Linked DNA regions of Homo sapiens: all the other regions are linked to region 1. The links are contacts of gene promoters, found by promoter capture Hi-C in human tissues and cell types (Jung and others, 2019). All regions are on one chromosome and are shown on one strand. Each heading gives the region's core, a stretch centred on a gene start or on the middle of the fragment in contact. The rest is flanking DNA. Distances are from core to core; before and after follow the strand shown. Region 1 holds the start of STMN1 (stathmin 1). Region 2 has its middle 18 kb from the start of MAN1C1. Region 3 holds the start of CD52 (CD52 molecule).

Region 1 (3,942 bases), core at 1,059-3,558:
GAGACCAGCCTGGGCAACAAAGGGAAAGCCCATCTCTACAAAAAAAATTTTTTTTGATTAGGTGGGTGTGGTGGCCCATGTCGATAGTCCCAGATGCTATGGAGGCTGAGGTGGGAGAATCGCTTGAGCCCACTTGAGCTCCAGAAGTCAAGGCTGCAATGAGCTATAATTAAGCCACTGCACTCCAGCCTGGGCAACAAGGTGAGACCCTGTCTCAAAAAAAATAAAAACCATCTCCCAGAAAAACAAAGCTCAACATTTTTGGATTAATAAATACTGTTTTGAGACATCAGTATCTGACAATCGCTTTCATAAACAAAAGACTTGTGCAAACTCCACAATTTTGCTTCAGACTAAGCCAAACTGTCCAATAAACAATTACGAGCTCTCGGCACATTCAAGTGATAATCATTTTTAAATTCTTCTCCTATTCATAAAATAGGTTTTGGTAAGACCAAAACATAAGTGCCAAATCAAAGGCGAAGACCTGAGCCATCTCAATCTAAAATCATAAGCCCATTACAATTTCAGATTTTCCAAATAGATTACCTACCAGAAGAAGCCATGGTGAATAGAAGACAAGCGACAGGCAGTGTATTCTGCACAATCAACTGGGATAAGGAAAGTCCTGAAAATGATTTTCAAAAACATGCAATCACTTTCTTTGCCTTTCTATATGTCATCAACCCAAAAAAATCTCACATCACATCTACATACATCGTCAGAAAAATACGTGGAATAAAGACGTCTAAATTAACCACGAAAAAAATTATCAAAATCTACTAAATAAACATTGGGAAATATGACCTGAATATGATATTGGTTCCAGAAAATCAAGTTAACTGAGCTTTCTCGGTCATAAAACTCTTGGATTTTTAAAATCAGACAAAGTCACAAGGGTGAAGAATTTTTCCCCCATAAACTCTTTAACATTTCACCGAAACTGTAAGAAGATATTCCAGATTCAACTCAACAGTGCCCCCGGAGCCATCTTAATACTGCCTACAACTCATTGTGCAAATGAAATACCCACCCCTGCTTTGTCTGTGTCTGACGTGGTGGATAAGAAAACGCCCAAGCTAATAGTAACCAATAATGTTGAACTCCTATTGTCCCTCAGGTTTAAGCTTCCTTGCCCAACAGCAAGCAAAATGTTTATGAACCTCTAGATTTTGACTTATATTTGCTGCCGTTATGTCATGAAAAATGCTGTATCTCTTGTTGATCTTTTTAACATTATGACTTTTGTAGACGCCAGCTAGTACCAAAAACGTAGGATGACAGGTTCCCAAAAGCTAGGAATTAAAATCAGAGGCAGCGACAAGATTTAAGAAAAGCAGAGAATTAGACGCAGCACCGGACCCAGGATGGGCGTGGCCCTGGTCCGGGCGAGGAAAAGAGGACCGGTCGCCCCCGGCCAATCAGAGCACGCCTTGCGCTCCGGCCCCTGGCCCCGCCCCCTTCCTCCCCGCGCCTTTTCGAATCTCCCCGAACTCAACACCCCGGAGCCCGCGCGCGTGGGAAGGGGAGGGGTGGGCGGGGCTAACGGTCCAATCCGGGTAACTCCGCCCCTGCCTGACTCCCCCTGCGCGGACGCCCCCCCCAACTCCCGCCAAAAACACCTCCAGGCCGCCGCCACCACCCCCTTCACAGTTCAGCGGGTGGGGCAGGCCCCGGGAACAGGCCCCCGGGTGGTCCCGCGGTGAGCTCGCCACCGCCTCCCGCCGTCCCCATGCCCAACCTGCCGCCACCCACGCTGTCCGCGCGTCCGGCCGCGAAGACAGAAGAACCCTCGTGGGGCCCGGGAGCGCCGCCCCTCAATCACCAGCTGCGGTCGCCAGGGGACGGTCGCAGGGAGGGTCGCGGCCCTGGCTGCCCGCAGTTTGGTCCTAAAGCCGCTGGTCCCTGGGGCACCGCCCCGTCCCTTCAGACAATGGGGAACCCGGCGGGGCCCGCAGGGAAGGGAGGGAGGGAGGGAGGTAAACGAGGGCCCACGCCCCCTATTGTCTCCTCGACGGCACCCCGGAGCGGACGCCCGGTGATCGCCCAGCCCCCTGCCCACGAACAGCCGCGCCCCCGGAGAGCGGGGACAAAGGCGAGGCTCCGCCCGAGCCACACACAAAGCGGAGCGACCCCCGCCCACCAACCCCTCCGAGGCCCGCAGCCCCGCCCGCCGCCCTGCAGCAGGGGGTCGCTGCCACGGCCCAGCCCCTCCCGCCGACCGCGTCCCTCTTGCTGGCCTCAGCCAGCCGCCGCCTCCTCCGAGCCCCGCACCCACCTGCTCAGTCCGAGCCGCCTGACCACACTCTGAGCACCAACAGACCCGGGCGCGCACAAAAGCGCCAAACAGAGGCACGTGACCTCCGCGCGGGGCTCCGCATTGGCCGAGAGCGGCGGCACGTGCCGCCCCCGCCCCCCACAACCCGCGTGGAGCGCCGCCCCCCGGGACCCCGAAGCACCTCGGGAAGTGTAGTCCTGTCCCGGAGGGCAGGAGGACAATGCCGGGGGTTGCAGGGCGCCTGGGGAGCATCCCCAGGTGTGGGCCTGGGACTAGGGGGGTGGTCTCGCCGTGGAAGAGGGCGTGGCAGTGGACCCCGGACTAGGTCCGAACCAGCTCCCCATTCTCGAGAACAAGGGCAGGGCGGAGCAGGCGGAGGGCGGGGGGGTCCTTCCCTACCTTTCCAAACTTTGGCCGCCTGGACTCCACCTTGTAGAGCCACATGCCCGCCTCGCCCCAAGGGCAGCACTCGGACAGAGCAGTGCCCCTTCTAGTGCGCCACCCACATGGGTGCCTAAGACGCCCGAGCCCCTGTGACAGCACAATGCCACTCCACGCCCCTGCAGGGCCCCCTGCCCCCGGCACCCTACACCGACACCGGCGTGTCACCCATATTGTGACATCATCGTAATTTCTAATCCACTCAGCCCACAGGTCGCGGGCGTGGCCCTTCCCTCACTGTGTGCGTTCTTGCCAGCATCCTCAGGTTCCCGAGCCGGTGACCAGGGACCTGTGCGGGAAAGCGTGGGGCTCTGGAATTTGATCGCCTTTGGTCTAACAAAGCCACTCAGCTTAAATGCAGACTCCATCTGTTCTTCCAAGCCTTCTGCGGATGATAGGGGAGGAAGAGCAATAGCCGTTCTAGACTACACAGATTGCAGTTAAGTGTTGCTTTTGTTCTCAGAGCACGTGCTCCCCAGAGCAGCACTGGGTTCTTTTTAAAAATCGAAAAAGGAGCCACAAGGTCACTGTTCTCCCTGACCTGGATAGCTCAGAACCTCAGCAAAGGCACAAAGGAAATTGGTCTGACCGTGCCTTAGAATAACTGGCCCTTTCTCTCACAAAAAGGGGAAAAAAATAAATGAAATGAACATGGTCCCCGCCTCCTCCCATTCTCTGACCAAGACCGTGTCCTCGGTTGGTGGTCAATACACCAAGACACCTGCTTTGAGATCTTGACTAAGCAGAAGAGATATCTTTATTTTATTAATGAGCTGCATCTCCCCAAATCAAGAAACAAATGTGACCAACCTTCCTGAAACAACAGTCCTAATTTAGAAAGACTCTCATGCCTAGTTAGTCACCAGGGATGTGCCAGAGATAAAATACAACTAAGGGGTGCCCAAGACAATAAAAACTGGATCATACAAGCAGCAGCACACTACACAAAGCAAACAATTAGCAATGCGCTGTTGCCTGAAATATGCTTGTTGCGGCATTTTTTCCAACAATCGCCCTTGTGTGGGGTCGGCCTCCCCCCCAAGCCAATCGAAGTGGTTTTCACTTAGCCTGTGAGCAGGACCAGGAATAATTCAGATACTGAGCCTTGAAAGGCTTCTTCTCAGACCAAACTTAGCTTCAAAATGGCTAGGTGCTTCCGTCTGTCATTTTTCTGAACAGAATCTCAGACATCATTAGAAAAGTTGGAGAAGGATGGGCATGAG
Region 2 (3,837 bases), core at 1,239-3,738, 310 kb before region 1:
CACCTGTAATCCCAGCTACTTGGGAGGCTGAGGCAGGAGAATCGCTTGAACCCAGGAGGCAGAGGTTGCATTGAACTGAGACTGTGCCATTGCACTCCAGCCTCGAGACAGAGCGAGATTCTGTCTCAAAAAAAAAAATTATATATATATATATATATATATATATATATATATATATATGTACACACACACACATATTTTAGAACCAGGGTCTTGCTATGTTGCCCAGGCTGGAGTACAGTAGCTACTCACAGGCATGATCATAGCATGCTACAACTCCAAACTCTTGCCTCAGTCTCCTGAGTAGCTGGGACTACAGGCATGCACCACTGTGCCCAGCCCTCCCCTTCATAGCTGTCTCTTTGCCTTACAAATTCTGTTAAAGTTGTGAGAGCTGAGCACACTTTGCTCACTGTGATTGTGGGTTTTGCCACTGAAAATGGCAGTCCCACGCAGGAGAGACACAGGATGCTTTCCTCCCCCGATACATGGGGCAAATGGCTCTCTGCTCCCTGAGTGGAGGGCAGCAGTTTTGGGGATTTTTGTACTCCTCTAGCTCAGCTCCATTTGAAACTCAGCCTGTTGATGTTCTCTGGGATCTAGGGCCAAGCTCTCTAGCATCTGACCTTGTCCTGCGACCTTCCACCTGCACTTGCTGTCACTCTGAGTTTTTTGTTCTCACCAGCATTTGCTGAAGCATCATCCTTGTTTATCTGCCCTGCCTGGGCCTTTTAACACAGGTGAACTCACCTTTGTATAACATGCGATGGTTAAGAGCAGGCTCTGGAGTCAGGCTGTGTGGGTTCAAATCTCAGCTACACTGTTTACTGGTGTGCTCTTGGGCAAATTACTTAACCAGTTTTGGCCTGTTTCCTCGTCTGTAGAATGGATATATAAAATGATAGGAAGATCAGAGAAAATACTTGTGCTGGGATCCGAAGGAAGAGGGGAAGAAGAGAGAAGGAAGGGAATCACAGACAGAAGCAAATAGCGTGTGCAAAGCCCTGTAGCAGCAAGAAGAGGCAGGGAGACTTGAGAGAAGGCCCAGGACTGCAAAGAGGCGACAGCTTGGCTCGCTCAGCCTCTTTTGTTGTGTGTCTTCCTGTACTAGAGAGACTCAGAAGCTAGATGTCTCTGAAGCCAAGGGTGCAGGTCAGATGCGACTTAGGCTCTACCAATCAGATGTACCATGGATGTTAATGTTCTAAGTCAGGGGCCATGTTTCTCTGGTCTTTGGACAAGCAGAGTCAAGGAGGTATTTGTTTTTCCACAGCAGCTGTTGCAGAGGGCTCAGCGTCTAGATCCATGTGTTGTGATTGTAGGGGAAGAGCTTGGGTCACCCATTCTGCGGCATGGGTCAGGGTAGAGTACTGTCCTTCCTGGAGCCGGCAGGGGTGGTGGCCACCTGATTTCCCAGCTTCTTGATTATGGTGGTGGCTGCAGCTCCCCTGGCAGGCCAGTTCTGCAGTGTTCTTCTGGGGATCATTTCTGGAAGCTCAGCCTAGAGTCAGCCTCTCCAACCCTCCCAACACTGGTGTAAGTACCTTTCCCTTGTATTAAATTCCTTTCTTCCTAAACAAGCTGCTGCAGTTCCTGTGATCTGAAACGGAGACTGACTGTGGTGTATTAAAGCGAAACATAAAGTTTTCCCATTGAGAAATGAAGCTTATTTTGCCTCCCTTCAATTGGCACCAGCCCTGTGACTGCTTAACCAAAAAGAAAGTGGTGGAACTGATGCTCGTCAATTCTAGGCCTAGCCTGGAAATTAAGAGCTACTGGAATGCTCACTCTTGAGACACTCTGTCTCAGAACCCAGCTGGCATGCTGTGAGAAGCCCCAGCCACATGGAGGGCTGCATGTTGGCACTCCAGGCAACAGCCCCAGTTGAACTCCCAGGCAACAGCCATCATCAACCATCAGACATGTGAGTAAGCCACTTTGGAAAGCCAGCCGAGTCAAGCCTCCAGATGACTACAGCCCCAGAAGAACCATACAGCTGAGCCCAGTCAACCCAGAGAATCACAAGAGATATAAACAGTTGTTTTAGGGCACTAAATGTTGGGATGATATGCAGTAAAAGATAACAAAACACTGACTGCTACAGGCCAGGGAAGCAAGAGGCAGCTGGAGGAGTCAGCAAAGGTGGATTATTAGCCGGGCCATGGTTAGCAGCTTTATGGATATCCGAGGAGATAGAAAGGTAGAAAGGTGGAAAGGTGGCCAGGCATGGTGGCTCATGTCTGTAATCCCAGGGCTTTGGGAGGCTGAGGTGGGCAGATTACCTGAGGTCAGGAGTTCGAGACCAGCCTGACCAACATGGCAAAAACCTGTCTCTACTAAAAATATAAAATTAGCTGGATGTGGTGGTGAGCACCTGGAATCCCAGCTACTCGGGAGGCTGAGGCAGGAGAATTGCTTGAACTCAGAAGTTGGAGGTTGCAGTGAGCCGAGATTGTGCCACTGCACTCCAGCCTGGTCAACAGGAGCAAAACTCTGAAAAGAAAGGAAGAAATAAGAAAGAAAGAAAAGAAGAAGAAAAAGAAAGATAGAAAAAAAGAAAGATAGAAAAAGGAAGGAAGGAAGGGGAAAGAAAGAAAGAAAGAAAGGAAAAGAAAGAAAGGTGGGAAAATGACATAGTGGAAAGGTGACATGGTTGCATCTACCTTTCATATGGGCCATTCTGCCTGCTGTATGGAGAACAGATTGCAGGGAGCCAGAGAGGTGGACCAGCCTGGAAATTATTGCTGTTGTTGAGGCAAGAGCTGAGTGTGGCTTGGGACAGGGGGTAGTGGTTGAAGGGGAGCCAGGTAGATGCATCAGAGATAAAAGGATAATACTGGGTGTTGGCTGAGGGGCTGCAGGCTCTCTGTGTGAGTTCTACCTGCCTAGTTCCTTCTAAGGGCCTCGTACCTCTACAGAGTCACACAATGGAAAGAGCAAGGGCTCAGGTATCGGATATATTGGGTGTTAATCTTATATCCAACACCCACCTGCTGTGTTACCTCGGGCAAGTCACCTAACTTCTCTGGACTTCAGTTTTCCTCTTCAATCAAATGGGACCATAAGAAGGATGATAATAATAATTTCATTGATTTGTTGAGCAGTGCCTGGCACACGGTAGGCACTCAATAAATATTTGTTGAATAAATGAATTGAATAGGCTGGAATTGAGGGGGGACAAGGAGGAAATGGTCTCCTTTACCTGCAAACTTGCTCTATAAAGAACCGATTTCCCTTCTTGACTCCTGCTGATAATTCAGGCAGTTCTATGGCTTTCTGTTCCCTTTTGGTCAAAGTAAACAGTTTCATTTTGATAATTAAAACTCACGGCAGTAACTAGAAAGTCCACTCTGACCCAGTGAAATGTAAAATTTTGATTTCGCCTCCAGTTAGAAGGTGAAACAAATCCCTCCTTCAATCAGTACCTACTGTGTGCCAGCCCCTGTGTGTGGTATAGTCAGCTAAGGGCTTGAATCATCAGGAAAAATACAGGAAAGCCTGTTAAATTTGAATTTCAGATAAATAATCAGTGTCCTTTTGGTATATGTATGTCCCCAAATAATGCATGGAGCGTACTTAGTAAAAATTATTTGTAGCTTATCTGAAATTCAAATTTAACTGGATTTCCTGGCCAGTATTTTTTTTTTTTTTTTTTTGTGAGACAGAGTCTCACTCTGTCACCCAGGCTGGAGTACAGTGGCACAATCTCGGCTCACTACAACCTCTGCCTCCCAGGTTCAAGCACTTCTCCTGACTCAGCCTCCCAAGTAGTTGGGATTACAGGCGTATACCACCACGCTCGGCTAATTTTCATTTTTTTGTTCATTCGTTTGTTTG
Region 3 (3,584 bases), core at 825-3,324, 410 kb after region 1:
TCCTGACCTCAGGTGATCCACCCACCTCGGCCTCCCAAAATGCTGGGATTACAGGCGTGAGCCACTGTTTCCTGGCCTTTTTTTTTTTTTTTTTGAGACAGGGTCTTGCTCTGTCACCCTGGCTGGAGTGCAGTGCCACAATCATGGCTCATTGCAGCCTGGGCCTCCCAGGTGCAAGCAATCCTCCTGCGTCAGCCCCCAAGTAGCTGAGACTATAGGTTTGTGCCACTATGCCCGGCTAATTTTTTTTTTTTTTTTTTTTTTTTTTGAGAGATGGGGCCTTCCTATGTTGCCCGGGTGGTCTCAAACTCCTGTGCTCAAGTTATCTGCCCGCCTCAGCCTCCCAAACTGCTAGGATTACAGGCGTAGCCCCTATGCCCAGCCTCTGTTTTTTTCTTTGGACTCAGCCTCAGCCAGATCTCCCCTGGGCTTGCAACACAAGGCCCAAAACAATAGAAGAGAAGTGAGGGGAGTTTTCCCTTTACTACCTAGCATGTAAATGAGGCCTAAAGTAGACTAAGGAAGGGAGAGTGTGAAGGGAGAGTGGGCCAGAGCTGGGGTTGTGGTGACCAACTCCTGGGGCCTGGGGGGAGTTTGTGTAGGGGAGGGGGAGGGAGTGGCAGGGAATCAAGACTTAATGGATGAATTCTAGGGCAGCCCCAGAGGTTACATACATGGCTGTGGCTTCAGACAGACCTGGATTCAAGGTCAAATGAGACTGGCTCCACCATTTACGACCTTAGCAAGTCACTTAACATCTAAGCCTCAGTTTTTTCACCAGTCAAATGGGGATAAACATAACACCTGCTGCAGGGCACCACAGAGGGTATCAAGTGAGGGAATGCATAAAGCATGGAGCACTATCCAGGCAGCTGTGGGATTCCTCTCATCCCCCCACCCCTCCCTGGGCCCTCACAGCCACTCTCTCACCCCAGTCCCCTTCCACTGTAGCTTAGTCACCCACTTGTCCCTTCCCTCGCTCCCCTCCCATTCATCCTCAGCTAATACAAACAACCCATCTGCTTGCTACTTTCTCTACCAAAATCACAAAATTCTAGGTCTTGGCTGGGCGCGGTGGCTCATGCCTGTAATCCCAGCACTTTGGGAGGCCGAGGCAGGCGGATCACTTGAGATCAGGCATTCGAGACTAGCCTAGCCAACATGGTGAAACCCAGTCTCCGCTAAAAAAAAAAAAAAAATACAAAAAATTAGCCAGGCATGGTGGCACACACCTGTAGTCCCAGCTATGCGGGAGGCCAAGGCAGGATAATTGCTTGAACCCAGGAGGTGGAGGTTGCAGTAAGCCGAGATCATGCCAGTGCACAGAGCAAAACTCTGTTTAAAAAAAAAAACAAAAAAACCAACAACAACAAAACAAAACACTAGGTTTTAACAAACTTCAGAAATAATCTATTTCAGTCTTCCCAGTTCCTTGAAATGAGGAACTGAGGCCTAGAGAGGGAAAGCCCAACTGAAACCAGGCTTCCCGATTCCTCACCTCCAGCACCTTCACAGAAATCCACCAACCCTTCCACAATCTAAACATTTCCCAAGCTTTCATTCAGAACCTGCAGCCCATCTACAACCTTCCCTTGAAACATAAATCTATCCCAGCCCTTCTCCTTCAGCTCCTATACCCTGCCCCAATCTTCTTTAAACAACAAACTCATTTACGGAATATCTGCTATGTTCTGGCTCTTTTTAAATTGGTTATTATTACATGTAATCCGGCAGTTCTTTTGTTAAAGGGTCAGAGAGGTAGAGTTTCTGGCCCAGGGTCTCAGAGCTGGTCAGTGATTAAACCAGGATTCAGCCTGCAGGATGCATGATTCCAGGCCTTGGGCCCTACTTACTCCCACCGTTGCCTCTGGATTGACCTCTCTCCTATCTTGTACGATCTAGCCTGCTCCCCCAGCCAGGGCCTTAGAACCTAGAGCCTGGTATTATCCACCCCCAGATCTGCAGAAAGGAAGCCACACCCCTCCTCCACCTTGTAAGCCCTCCTTCCTCTCCCTACCTCACCCCGCCTCCTCTGCCTCCTGGTTCAAAAGCAGCTAAACCAAAAGAAGCCTCCAGACAGCCCTGAGATCACCTAAAAAGCTGCTACCAAGACAGCCACGAAGATCCTACCAAAATGAAGCGCTTCCTCTTCCTCCTACTCACCATCAGCCTCCTGGTTATGGTACAGGTAAGAGCAACGCCTGGCACCACTGCCAGGACTCCCCAAAGTTGCTTGGCATGGAGGGAGGGCATACAGGATGTGAGCTCCCAGAGACCCAGCCTTCTCTCCTGAGAGCACAGCAGATGGACTCCAACAGGAAAACTGGGGACACAGCGGGCCTGGCCGCCCAGCCTTCCAGCTCTTCTGGCTGGGGCTGCACTGCTTGCGGGCTGCCCTGAGAGAAACCTGTATCCACAGCTGGGGAGCACTTACAGGGTGCTAGGCGCGTTGGGGCACCCAAGGGGTGTTGTGGAATAATAGAGAACTAAGAGACTTGGGAAGACAACCCTGAGTGAGGAAGGCATCGGCCCACAGGGAGTCTGGGGAGATGGTCCTTTGGGGAGAGGCCAGGAGATGTCCAAGTGGAGCCTGCTGTGGTTATGGAGGTGACAGGGGACACTCTAACCCCCACTCCCCTGCCAGAGAGAAGCCTGGATGTTCAGGAATGCAAAGAAGACAGGACTCTCCCATTTCAGAAACAACTGGAGTCTCAAAAGCGACTGCTATTCCAGGAGGCAGCTTTGGTAGCATCCCAGGTGCCCAGAGGGGAGTCAGTACAGCAGACCGGAGCCATCAAGTTCTTGATCAAGAACAGCTTGATCACCATCAAAACCAGCTTAATCTCCATCAAGAACAGTTCTAGTTGCAGCTCCATCAAGCATTAAGGACAGCTCGATCACCATCTGGCCACTTCCCCACCCCACATCCAGCCACCCACGCTTTGCCAAGTGCTTTCTCACTCAGCCCTGGCTCATGTGACCTTCACAACTGTGATGAACTTCTCCCCACTCAGAAGATGAAACTGAGGCTCAGGGAAGCTAAGCCCTTTGCCAGGCTAGGAAGGTCAAGGGCCAGGGCTCCCCTGTCTCCCTCTATGCCAGAAGGGCTGGTCGCTGGGGAAAGGTGAAAAGAAAGGTTCTGTGACCGGGCACGGTGGCTCACGCCTATAATCCCAGCACTTTGGGAGGCCGAGGCAGGCGGATCACCTGAGGTCAGGAGTTCAAGACCAGCCTGGCCAACATGACAAAATCCCGTCTCTACTAAAAATACAAAAATTAGCTGGGCGAGCCGGGCGCGCTGGCTCGCGTCTGTAATCCCAGCACTTTGGGAGGCTGAGGCGGGTGGATCATGAGGTCAGGAGATCGAGACCATCCTGGCTAACACATTGAAACCTCGTCTCTACCATAAATACAAAAAGAAATTAGCCGGGCGTGGCGTGGTGGCGGGCGCCTGTAGTCCCAGCTACTCGGGAGGCTGAGGCAGGAGAATGGCGTGAACCTGGGGGTGAAGCTTGCAGTGAGCCGAGATCACGCCACTGCACTCCAGCCTGGGCGGGCGACAGAGCAAGACTCTGTCTCGGAAA

The links. Contacts are between HindIII fragments. The study calls those that stand out against the background at their distance.
Region 2: a fragment that was not itself captured here is called in contact with the fragment with the promoter of STMN1 in region 1 in 1 of the 25 tissues and cell types used here (adrenal gland).
Region 3: a contact is called between the fragment with the promoter of CD52 here and the fragment with the promoter of STMN1 in region 1, in 1 of the 25 tissues and cell types used here (IMR-90 fibroblasts).

What each region holds. Positions count from the first base shown.
Region 1 is chr1:25,904,111-25,908,052 of GRCh38, forward strand. It overlaps STMN1 (stathmin 1), which reads right to left and starts at 2,309. Exons shown (of 5, transcript NM_005563.4): 1 at 2,279-2,309; 2 at 554-628. The coding sequence starts at 566. MIR3917 (microRNA 3917) reads right to left here and starts at 2,344; the gene lies at 2,252-2,344. It overlaps LOC105376885 (a long non-coding RNA gene), which reads left to right and starts at 2,440. Exons shown (of 2, transcript XR_947102.1): 1 at 2,440-2,536; 2 at 2,926-3,942. RefSeq lists silencers at 1,248-1,542, 1,322-1,741, 2,132-2,221, 2,242-2,551. The HindIII fragment of the contact is 6,882 bases long and covers 1-3,942 here.
Region 2 is chr1:25,597,133-25,600,969 of GRCh38, forward strand. No RefSeq gene overlaps it. Among named protein-coding and RNA genes, the nearest start is that of MAN1C1, 18 kb to the right of the region's middle. The HindIII fragment of the contact is 8,864 bases long and covers 1-3,837 here.
Region 3 is chr1:26,315,884-26,319,467 of GRCh38, forward strand. CD52 (CD52 molecule) reads left to right here and starts at 2,075. Exons shown (of 2, transcript NM_001803.3): 1 at 2,075-2,188. The coding sequence starts at 2,135. It also overlaps a transcript of UBXN11 not described here. RefSeq lists a silencer at 1,865-2,057 and enhancers at 2,132-2,201, 2,332-2,481, 2,855-3,584, 2,982-3,081. The HindIII fragment of the contact is 5,127 bases long and covers 435-3,584 here.